Linked DNA regions of Homo sapiens: regions 1, 2 and 3 are each linked to region 4. The links are contacts of gene promoters, found by promoter capture Hi-C in blood cells and fetal thymus (Javierre and others, 2016). All regions are on one chromosome and are shown on one strand. Each heading gives the region's core, a stretch centred on a gene start or on the middle of the fragment in contact. The rest is flanking DNA. Distances are from core to core; before and after follow the strand shown.

The links. Contacts are between HindIII fragments. The CHiCAGO score rates a contact against its expected background, and 5 or more counts as called.
Region 1: a fragment that was not itself captured here is called in contact with the fragment with the promoter of MYBPHL in region 4 in 1 of 17 cell types (M2 macrophages); the score reaches 5.9 in M2 macrophages.
Region 2: a contact is called between a fragment that was not itself captured here and the fragment with the promoter of MYBPHL in region 4, in 1 of 17 cell types (M2 macrophages). The highest score is 6.1, in M2 macrophages.
Region 3: a contact is called between a fragment that was not itself captured here and the fragment with the promoter of MYBPHL in region 4, in 1 of 17 cell types (M2 macrophages). The highest score is 5.0, in M2 macrophages.

The regions. Positions count from the first base shown.
Region 1 is chr1:109,201,732-109,204,431 of GRCh38, reverse strand. ELAPOR1 (endosome-lysosome associated apoptosis and autophagy regulator 1) reads right to left here. Exons shown (of 22, transcript NM_020775.5): 22 at 1-1,488. The coding sequence ends at 1,420. Among named protein-coding and RNA genes, the nearest start is that of SARS1, 11 kb to the left of the region's middle. The HindIII fragment of the contact is 3,218 bases long and covers 1-2,700 here.
Region 2 is chr1:109,225,286-109,227,985 of GRCh38, reverse strand. The region is part of intron 2 of SARS1 (seryl-tRNA synthetase 1); the gene reads right to left. Among named protein-coding and RNA genes, the nearest start is that of SARS1, 13 kb to the right of the region's middle. RefSeq lists enhancers at 1,243-1,927, 1,928-2,612. The HindIII fragment of the contact is 7,808 bases long and covers 1-2,700 here.
Region 3 is chr1:109,420,754-109,423,453 of GRCh38, reverse strand. PSMA5 (proteasome 20S subunit alpha 5) reads left to right here. Exons shown (of 9, transcript NM_002790.4): 2 at 1,528-1,594. Among named protein-coding and RNA genes, the nearest start is that of PSMA5, 4.3 kb to the left of the region's middle. The HindIII fragment of the contact is 1,938 bases long and covers 416-2,353 here.
Region 4 is chr1:109,305,711-109,308,410 of GRCh38, reverse strand. MYBPHL (myosin binding protein H like) reads left to right here and starts at 1,400. Exons shown (of 9, transcript NM_001010985.3): 1 at 1,400-1,564. The coding sequence starts at 1,420. RefSeq lists enhancers at 404-1,142, 1,143-1,882. The HindIII fragment of the contact is 12,327 bases long and covers 1-2,700 here.

The DNA.
Region 1 (2,700 bases), core at 146-2,645, 100 kb after region 4:
TAAGGCTGGAACATCTGGGTTTGGGGCTTACCTGGTTCTTTTCAGTGTCATAGAGTGATAGTGGAAGGTTTAAAAAAAAGATAGGGAGGATGTATCCACCAGGGCTTTGGGCATTTTCTTGATGAACTTATTCCTTTGGCTTCAGTGAGAATATCTATCATTTACTTAAGAGAAGGCAATGAGCTACGTGGTTTAAAAAACAAATAAAAGGCTGAGTGCAGTGGCTTATGCCTGTAATCCCAGCAGTTTGGGAGGCTGAGGCGGACAGATCACTTGAGCCCAGGAGTTGGAGACCAGCCTGGGCAACATGGTGAAACCCTGTGTCTACAAAAAATATAAAAATTAGTGAGCCTGGTGGTGCACACTTGTAGTCCTAGCTACTTGAGAGGTTGAGATGGGAGGATAGCTTGAGCCCAAGAGCTTGAGGCTGCACTGAACAGTGATTATGCCACTGCACTCCAGCCTAGGTGACAGAGTGAGAGCCTGTCTCAAAAACAAAAACATTCCTTGTTGCCTCTCTTTGTGCTTTTCTTTTTTTTTTTTTTTTTTTTTGAGGCAGAGTCTCACTCTGTCACCCAGGCTGGATGGAGTGCAGTGGCGCGATCTCGGCTCACTGCAAGCTCCGCCTTCCAGGTTCACGCTATTCTCCCGCCTCAGCCTCCCGAGTAGCTGGGACTACAGGCACCCGCCACCACGCCCGGCTAATTTTTTGTATTTTTAGTAGAGACGGGGTTTCACCGTGTTAGCCAGGATGGTCTCAATCTCCCGACCTCATGATCTGCCCGCCTCGGCCTCCCAAAGTGCTGGGATTACAGGCGTGAGCCACCGCGCCCGGCCTCTTTTTATGCTTTTCAAGGCTTTTCTTACCCAGGCCTTGCTCCCCTTGCCCTCAGACTACCATTTTCACTCCCTTTGAGCTGGTTATCCAGGGGAAATGGATCCAGGCTGCTATGAAGATTATCCACCAGGGAACCCCGACACCCTCCTCACCCAGCCTCTCTCCTGAAGAGATCATGAGCTGAGGGCATGCGAGGAAAACTCCCAGCTGTTTCTGCCCTTAAGTTAGAGGACAGAGGAAATAGTTTCTATACTTAAGAAGATAGAAATATTTTCATTCCAAAGCTATAAGAATTATGAGCAGACGAAGCTATGGCTCTGGCGGATGGGCCATTTTGGGAAACAAGATACAAGCAAGGGCATAATTTACAAACAAAGTGTGGGTATATTTGGCAGGTTTGAGGCAAGCAGAAAGGAGGGTTTGGGTACTCTATAAAAAAAGATCTGAAATTCAAACATCTGATAAGGCCACAATGAAGAGATTTCCAGCAGTGGGTGTTGCAGGATGCTGGCACCCAAATCGCCGCAGGCTTGCAAAGGTGCTATGCAAGGTGAGGAGGCAGGTGAGGCAGGCAGTGCCTCTCACAGGTCCATGTCTAGGCCTCCTGAGGATGTCTTCAGCGGCACTGAGTCAAATCCATCAGGAGTCCTCTGAAAGAGAGATGGTGACAGGAGCTGGCTGCTGCACAGGGGCAAGTTTGGGGACAAAGGAGAGAAATGGAAAATAGGTGACAGAAGGAACCCTTATGAAATTCCTGTTTCAGTGGCTTTGTGGAAACACAGAAATGAGATACCCTCTATTCTGCTTGCTCCCTTCAGGGTCAGTTGGAGAACAATAAAAATCTTTTTCTTTTAGGCGGGGTGTGGTGGCTCATGCCTGTAATCCCAGCACTTGGGAGGCCAAGGCAGGTGGATCACCTGAGGTTAGGAGTTCGAGACCAGCCTGACCAACATGGTGAGACCCTGTCTCTACCGAAAATACAAAAATTAGCCAGGCATGGTGGCAGGCGCCTATAATCGCAACTACCTGGGAGGCTGAGGAAGGAGAATCGCTTGAACCCGGGAACAGAGGTTGCAGTAAGCCAAGATCATGCCACTGCACTCCAGCCTGGGCAACAAGAGCGAAACTCTGTCTCAAAAAAAAAAAAATTTTTTTCTTTTAAAAAAATGTTTTTGGCCAGGCACAGTGGCTCACACCTGTGATCCCAGCACTTTGGGAGGCCAAAGCAGGCAGATCACCTGAGGTCAGGAGTTCAAGACCAGCCTGGCCAACATGGTGAAACCCTGTCTCTACTAAAAATACAAAAAAAAAAAATTAGCCAGGTGTGATGGCAAGCACCTGTAATCCCAGCATCTAGGGAGGCTAAGGCAGGAGAACCACTTGAACCTGGGAGGTGGAGGTTGCAGTGAGCTGAGATCATGCCACTGCACTCCAGCCTGGGAGACAGAGCAACACTCCGTCTCAATAAATAAATAAATAAATACATGTTTTTTAGAGACAGGGTCTCGCTCTGTTGCCCAGGCTGGAGTGCAATGGCACAATCATAGTTCAGTGCAGCCTCCAACTCCTGGGCTCAAGTGATCCTCCCACCTCAGCCTCCCAAGTAGCTGAGACTACTGGCATGCTCCACAACACCCAGCTGATTGTTTTTTATTTTGTAGAGATGGGGTCTTCCTATGTTGTCTAGGCTGATCTTGAACTCCCAGCCTCAAGAGATCCTCCAGCCTGGGCCTCCCAAAGTGCTGGGATTACAGGCATGAGCCAAAAATCTTAAAAATCCCCTGCTTTGCACCTTTGCTGAATTCTAGCAGTCCCAGATAGACTCAAGAGTCCCAGGGTGAACTGTTCTCCCATTCATTTAA
Region 2 (2,700 bases), core at 116-2,615, 80 kb after region 4:
TGCAGTGCTCAGGAGCAAGCCCTGGAGCAGACACACCTGAGTGTGGATTCTTTTTTTTTTTTTTTTTTGACGGAGTCTCACTCTGTCGCCCAGGCTAGAGTACAGTTTGCGTGATCTGGGCTCACTGCAAGCTCCGCCTTCCGGTTTCAAGTGATTCTCCTGCCTCAGCCTCCCAAGCAGCTGGGATTACAGGAGTGCACCACCACGTCTGGCTAATTTTTTTTTCCTTTTTTTTTTTTGTATTTTTAATAGAGATAGGGTTTCACTCTGTTGGATAGGGTGATCTCAAACTCCTGGCCTTAAGTGATCCCCCACCTTGGCCTCCCAAAGTGCTGGGATTATAGGCGTGAGCCACTGCACCCGGCCCCGAGTGTAGATTCTTATCTACCTGCTAACAACAATCCCAGCATTGAGGCTAAGGGTGAAAGATGGATGGAATGATGAAATATCAGACAGCCAAGGAAAACAAACAAACAAAAAGTCACAGGATCTGGAACTCAGTTTAGAACAATCAATGTAATTTGACAAAATGGCAGGGGTGTAACCAGGGTTGGATTTCGTTCTCTCTAGTTTCTCTTCTCATCCTTCCGTATGATAATTCTGCTAAATCATCATTTGTAATCCTTGCACAAAACCAGGTGAATTTAAAAAGATCACTTAAAGAGTTAAATTCTTCTTAAATTAAAAAGAGTTGGCAGGGCACGGTGGCTCATGCCTGTAATCCCAGCACTTTGGGAGGCTGAGGTGGGTGGATCACGAGGTCAGGAGTTCAAGATCAGCCTGACCAAGATGGTGAAACCCCGTCTCTACTAAAAATACAAAAATTAGGCAGGCGCGGTAGCAGACACCTGTAATCCCAACTACTCGGGAGGCTGAAGCAGGAGACTTGCTTGAACTTGGGGGCAGAGGTTGCAGTGAGCTGAGATCACACCACTGCACTCCAGCCTGGGTGACAGAGTAAGACTCTGTCTCAAAAAAAAAAAAAAAAAAGAGTTAAAGAAAGTTAGTCAAAGGTCATTATAATAAGATACATGAGACTTCAACAAAACTTGCATAAGAATATTTAGCATCCGCTTTGTGAGTATAAATAAAACAAAGTATAGCCAGGTACAGTGGCTTGCAACTGTAATCCCAGCTACATGGTAGGCTGAGGTGGGCAGATCACTTTAGCCCAGGAGTTCAAGACCAGCCTGGGCAGCAGAGTGAGACCCCATATCTAAATATAAATAAATAAATAAATAAATAAATATATATATATGTGTGTGTGTGTGTGTGTGTGTGTGTGTGTATATATATATATATATATATTTTTTTTTTTTTTTAAATTAGCCAGGCATAGTGGAGTACACCTGTAGTCTCAGCTACTTGGGAGGCTGAGGCGGGGGGACTGCTTGAGCCCAGGTATTAGAGGCTGTGGTGAGCTATGCTTGTGCCACTGCACTCCAGCCTGGGTGACTTTTTAAAAAATTAGCCAGGCACAGTGACATGTGTCTATAGTCCTAGTTACTTGAGAGGCTGAGGTGGGAGGACTGCTTGAGCCAAGGAGTTGGAGGCTGCAGTGAGCTATGATCACGCCACTGCGCTCTAGCCTGGGCAACAAAGCAAGACACTGTGTCAAAAAAAAAAAAAGAAAGAACAAAAGGACTAAATCTCCTAAATGTAAAGCATGGAAATCCTTTAGGTTCATTACACATTCTCATACAATCAAAATTCTAACCATAACTCCACTCACACCCTTCAGTGACTCAGAGCAAAATCATCTTAAAAAGTTGGAAAAATCTGGCCAGGTGCAGTAGCAACACAGGGAGACTCCATCTCAACAAAAAAAAAAAAAAAAAAAATTAGCCGAGTGTGGTGGCATGCTACTAGGGAGGCTGAGGCAGGAGGGCTGCTTGAGCCCAGGAGGTTGAGGCTGCAGTGAGCCATGATTGTGCCACTGCGCTCCAGCCTGGGCAATAAAATGAGGCTTTGTCTCAGAAAAAAAGAAAAAAAGTTGGAAAAATCTGAAACTATCAGAATGAGTCTTGATAAGAACAGACTACAGAGGTAGGGAAAAAATGGACTAAATCTCAAGATTTTTGCAATGGCATCATAGGCAGGGTGATATGTTTGCAAGATAGTTACCAGGCTCCCTTGCTATTTGATAATCCCTCAGGGCAGCAAATTCAAGTTCTGAGCTCAAGGTTTGACTCTGCAACTAAGTTAGAATATGATTTTAAGCAAGCTCTTTAATTTCCTAAGCCGATTCCCTTACCCATTAAATAGGGCTGACAAATGTACTATCTGCACTCCAGCTCTGCAGTAAGGATCAAAACCAAAATAAGATGTCTGTGAAAGTATCTGAATGCTTTCGAGTGCTCTACAAATTAAAGCACTATCATTACCATTTCAATGGCAGTGGGAGTGAACACTCCCTGCATGGCTAGCAACAAAATCAGATCTAAGAATGTTATTGTGAATGACAACACTCACAATCCCATCTTCTTGCTTCAAAAAATACCCAGCTGGCACTGACTGTACATAGGTCCCAAAGAACACCCAGGGAGGAGTATGCATGGGAATTAACATAATTATGGGGCCTCTAGTATGCGAATGACTAAGTCCCACAGAAAGAAACTGGATGATTATCAATATCACTTTCCACAGCTAAAAGTGTTACACGCTGAAAGTGTAACAAAATATTGTCAAAGAGAAAGATGC
Region 3 (2,700 bases), core at 135-2,634, 120 kb before region 4:
TAGTAGAGATTTGGAAGTAACTTGTGCTTAGCACTCTCCCAGGCTGGAGTGTAGTGGCACCATCTCGGCTCACTGCAACCTCCGCCTCCTGGGTTCAAGTGATTCTCATGCCTTAGCCTCTCAAGTAGCTGGGATTACAGGCACCTGCCACCACGCCCAGCTAATTTATGTGTTTTTAGTAGAGACGGGGTTTCACCTTGTTGGCCAGCCTGGTCTCGAACTCCTGACCTCAGGTGATCCGCCTGCCTCATCCTCCCAACGTGCTGGGATTACAGGCGTGAGCCACCACGCCAGGCCAAAAGCACTACTATATGACATGTTACCTGTTGTAAAGTCTGGACTCCATAAACCACGGATTGCAACCATCTCATTCATTTGTTCACATATTTTTTGTGTCCATTGTGTGCTCAAAGCTTTTATAGCTGAGACCATGATTGGTGCCTCTTCTCCGTAGGGATTTCCAGCACACTTGAGCAAGGAAAGGTGGAAAGTGTTAAGTGTTAAGGGGAAGTGTTTAGAGAGGAAAGCAGTCTGACATGTAAGTTATATAAATATTGAGTGAATGAACTAGGTTAGAATTAGGAACTACATGGATCTCAGTCTGTTAAGATAACAATAGTAATTCATACAAATAAGTAGAGAAATGTACCTGTGACTAACTTTTAGTAAAAAGTAATAATTAGGCCCAGGCACAGTGGTTCATGCCTGTAATCCCAGCATTTTGGGAGGCCGAGGCGGGTGGATCACGAGGTCAGGAGTTCAAGACCAGCCTGGCCAATATGGTGAAACCCCATCTCTACTAAAAATACAAAAATTAGCCGGGCGTGGTGGCATGCACCTGTAGTCTTAGCTGCTGGGGAGGCTGAGGCAGGATAACTGCTTGAACCCAGGAGGCGGAGGTTACAGTGAGCTGAGATCGCACCCGCCTGAGCGACAGAGCGAGACTCTGTCTCAAAAAAAAAAAAAAAAAAGTAATAACTGTGTTTTATAGAGATTGTCTGAATTAGGGGGAAAACTCTTCCTACTTGCTCCACGAGTCAATACCTGTTAGGAGACTATTACAAACGTTAGGTGAAAGGTAATGAGGGCATTGAGAATGGAAAGAAGAGTGATAACCCCAAGTATTAACGTCATATGCATGTTATGGGAAGAGGATAAGGAAAAATGCACATTTTCTTGGAAATTGGCTGATAGTTTTGAGGCATGAACTTACCAAAGGAACTGGTAAGTCTATTCAGAATGGATCCAAGTTGATTCAGGATTGAGGCAGAAAAGTCATTTGCTCTCATTTCATCAATTTGGGAAGACTTTCTGGGAGTGAGGCAGAAGTGTTCTATATATAGGTTCCATTGCCTTGAGAAACTGTTAATGTACAAAAAAATGCTACAGATTGTTGTGGGCGAAGTAGAGAATAATGACAATGTGCGTATTCTGTAGCTATCTGAGCTAGTTGTCAAGGAACTTGAATTCAGTGTCTACATGGCTAGTTTTTATGAGTATAATTAATAATTTTTTTTTAAATTATAGGGGCGTGAATACTTTTTCTCCCGAAGGAAGATTATTTCAAGTGGAATATGCCATTGAGGCTATCAAGGTATAGTAGCAAGTAGCATAGGTCCTGAAATTTCATGGCTACCTAACATTTTGCTGGCAGAACACTTGGAGTAAATGTGGTTTAACCATTCCTTTAGAAAATGTTCTTATATCCCTTTAAGCAACCACTGTTAACCATTTTTATAACAGTTTCAATCCTATTCCTAATATCTATTTTAAAACTTTTTGAGCAGTTAACTGCTTCATAATTATCTAAATAGCTTTTTCTCAGTGGGGGTGGAGGGACATATTTGTGCTTTTGATCCTCTTAGCTATAAAGAGAGGTACAGAAGTCCAGAATTAGCACCTGTATTACTTTTTCTGTTTTGTTTTCTTTAGCAAATCATGTATCTGACCACCTTTGTATTCTTTCTTTTTCTTTCTTTTTTTTTTTTTTTGAGATGGAGTCTCTCTCAGTTGCCCAGGCTGGAGTTCAGTGGCGTGATCTCAGCTTACTGCAACCTCCGCCCCTCGGGTTCAAGTGATTTTCCTGCCTCAGCCTCCCAGTACCACCAGGCTGGTCTCGAACCCCTGACCTCAAATGATTCGCCCATCTCAGCCTCCCAAAGTGCTGGGATTACAGGCGTGAGCCACCACGCACAGCCCACCTTTGTGTTCTTGTTGGTAAAGTCACCTTAGGGACTAAATAAGAGATTTGTTTTAGTGGTTTTTTAGAGACAGGGTCTCACTCTGTCACCCATGCTGGAGTACAGTGACACCATCTTAGCTCACTGCAGCTTCTAACTCCTGGGCTCAAGCTTTCCTCCCACCTTAACCTCCCTAGCAGCTAGGGTACAGATGTGTGCACCATGCCTGGCTAATTTTTTTTTTTTTTTTTTTTTGGTAGAGATGTGGTCTTGCTATGTTGCCCAAGTTGGTCTCAAACTCCTGGGCTCAAGTGATCCTCCTGCCTCAGCCTCTCAAAGTGTTGGGATTTACAGGTGTGAGCCACCACACCTGGCGTGGACTGGATAATTCTTTGTTGTGGAGGGCCATCTTGTACATTTTAGCATGTTTATCAATTCCTGGGTACTACCCATTAGGTGCCAGTAGCACTCTTTCAGTTGTGACCATCAAAAATGTCTCCAGACTTTGCCAAATGTCTGG
Region 4 (2,700 bases), core at 151-2,650:
TTACAAAGAGGCTGAGCTTCTGTCACCCCAAGATAACACAGGCTCCTGGGATCTTACCAATTACCCCAAAATTGAAGGCAAAAATGAGTAAGAAGTCAGTCCATTTGTTCAACTGCACCCATTTTTTTTCCATGAAAAAAATACAGGGGTGAGTAGGGGGCTGTGGGAACCCTATACTTTCCACTCAGCTTTGCCGTGACTCTCAAACTGCTCTAAAATTAAAGCATTTTAAAATGCAGAGGGATGCTGGCTTCTGGAGATAAGAAGGTAGGAGTATGATAGGTGGCAGTGTCCATGGCATGTACAACACGTATAGAAAGATGGTTTGCTAAGTCTGGAAATCATGTAGGACCTGTAGTATGTGACTAGCACCTGCTGTGAGCTGGCCACTTTCCTATAGATTGTATCATTTTATCCTCAACACAATCATGGCATCATCCCTTGTTTCATAGACTGGGACTTGAGACTCCGAGTCGGCCATTTGCCCAGAGTCCCAGCTGGTGAGTGAGTGGTACAGCCAGAAGTCACACGCAGGTCTCTGAGCTCGCCTCCCTCCACCACTGCTGCCTCTCCCTTTATTTGTACTTCATCTAATAGGCAAGGCAGCCATTGACAGCTCTCAAAGGGGGAAGTGCTGGCCTGACCTAAAAATAGCTTACATTTATCAAGCACTTAGTCGGCTACACTCTGCTAAGCACTTTACAGAGATTACCTCTTTAATCCTCACAACGACCCTATGGTTATAATTATCTCCATTTTACAGATGAGGAAACAGACTGAAGAGAGACTGTGAGGTGTTGTGAGTCACACAGCTAGTTGGTGACAGAGCCCCAAGTGGCACCTGGGCAGCCAGTGCGAGTGCAGTCTCCACCTACCACTGCGCTGTGCCCGCTGCCCCCGGGGAGCGGGGGAGGATGGGACAGGCCCTGTAAAGGTCGAGTTGATAAGACTTTACAATTCATTGAATGTGGGAGCAGAGGGAGAAAGAGCAGTTCAGGCGTTGCTGTGAGTCAGCTAATCCTGGGCCCCTTCTTTGGGACCTGAATGCCCCACGGGATGAACTGGAGGTCAGGAGCAGAGATGTCACTCAACCCTCCCTACAGAAATTAGAGGTCCCTTTTGGATGGTGTGTTCAAGCTCTCCCTCCCTGGTGCTGTGGGGGGTGTCATCTCTCTCCCGAGATAACAGGGACACCTCAGTCCTCCTGGGGCTATTCTGGGCTGCTGTCTGATCCTCCTCTCTCCCCCAACCCCTACTTCAGCCTTTCTGCTGGGCGTAGCTGAGTGGGGAGGGCCAGCCCAGTTACGTAACCCTGTGGCTGGGACCCGGGAGGCCAGCCTGGGAGCAGGTGCTCAGCCCCTCCCTCATCACCAGCAGTGAAAATCTAGAGCTGGAGCTCAGCCTCTGGGAAGGCCCAGCATGGAGGCAGCCACAGCTCCGGAGGTGGCCGCAGGATCCAAGCTGAAGGTGAAAGAAGCCAGCCCAGCGGATGCTGAACCACCCCAGGCTTCACCTGGACAGGGGGCTGGCAGCCCCACTCCCCAGCTCCTGCCCCCTATAGAAGGTGACCCATGGCAGGTGGGGAGGGTGGGGAGGCCGGGTGGTGGGAGTTGGGGAAGACATCGCCACCTTCCTGAACGGCGCCTCAGGTTTTCTGCAGAGCTAAAGACTCTATAGGATTGGTGATTAGGCTGGAGATCATTCGTGAGAGCCCCCATCCCCTGTCCTTGATGGAGTCTAACTTGCTGCTCAAATGTCCCTGCTAAGTTTTTGTGTTTTAGCTGAGAAGTCAGTGATGGTGTTGGTGGCACTTTACAGTGACTAAAAATGATCTGTTTATATTTTTACCTTTTAAAAAATTGTCATAGGGACTGGGAAGACCTGATATACTAATGGCCAGTCAGGAAGGGACTGAGGGGTAAGAGATAGTGACTGTCTGCTGAAGGAACAGGGAAATAAAATGCTATGGCAATGGGGAGGCTAAGAGTGGGGCAGCACAGTGACACTCGGCCTCCTGCTGGGCAGTACCACGGGGTCAGGACCTCCTCCAATCCCCCACTGCTCCCATAGGAGATCCTGACCCCTCAGAGTCTGAGCTCCACGGAAGTGGAGCTCTCCTGGGAGAAGCATTCAATTTCCCCTTCACGATGGTCTCTGTGTGCCTCTCAGCAAAGAGGCGTTCCCAAGTGAGGAATTCCAACCCCGAGCTTCCTGCCGCCCATCCCTGAATGCCCTGGCTGAGGCCTCTGTAGCTAACCACTTCGTGGCGCTCACCTGAAAGTCTTAAGAGGATGAAAAGACCACAATCAAGAAACACGTGGACTCCTAGGGCAGGAAGAGGCAGGGGAAAAGATATACTAGACTTGGAGGCAAAGCTCTAGGCTCAATTCCTAGTGCCGCCTCTAACAGCCCTGTGACCTTGGACAAGTCACTGGACTGCTCAGTTTCCATTTTCACTCTGTAAAATGGTGATTAATAACATCTACCTATCAGGGTAGTTGAAAGGATTGCTGAGATGATCCAGGGTGCCTTGGAAGAGGCCAAACTAAGATGTAAATAAATGATCAAATATTTCCAAGTGAGAGGTGAAGGCTGCGTTCTACCTCCATAGGGTTGTGCAGCAGACTCTGTCTGCCTCTTATCCTCATGGGAGAGGCCAGGTTTCCAGAAACTATTTGAATGTCAAGGGCAGAGAGCTGG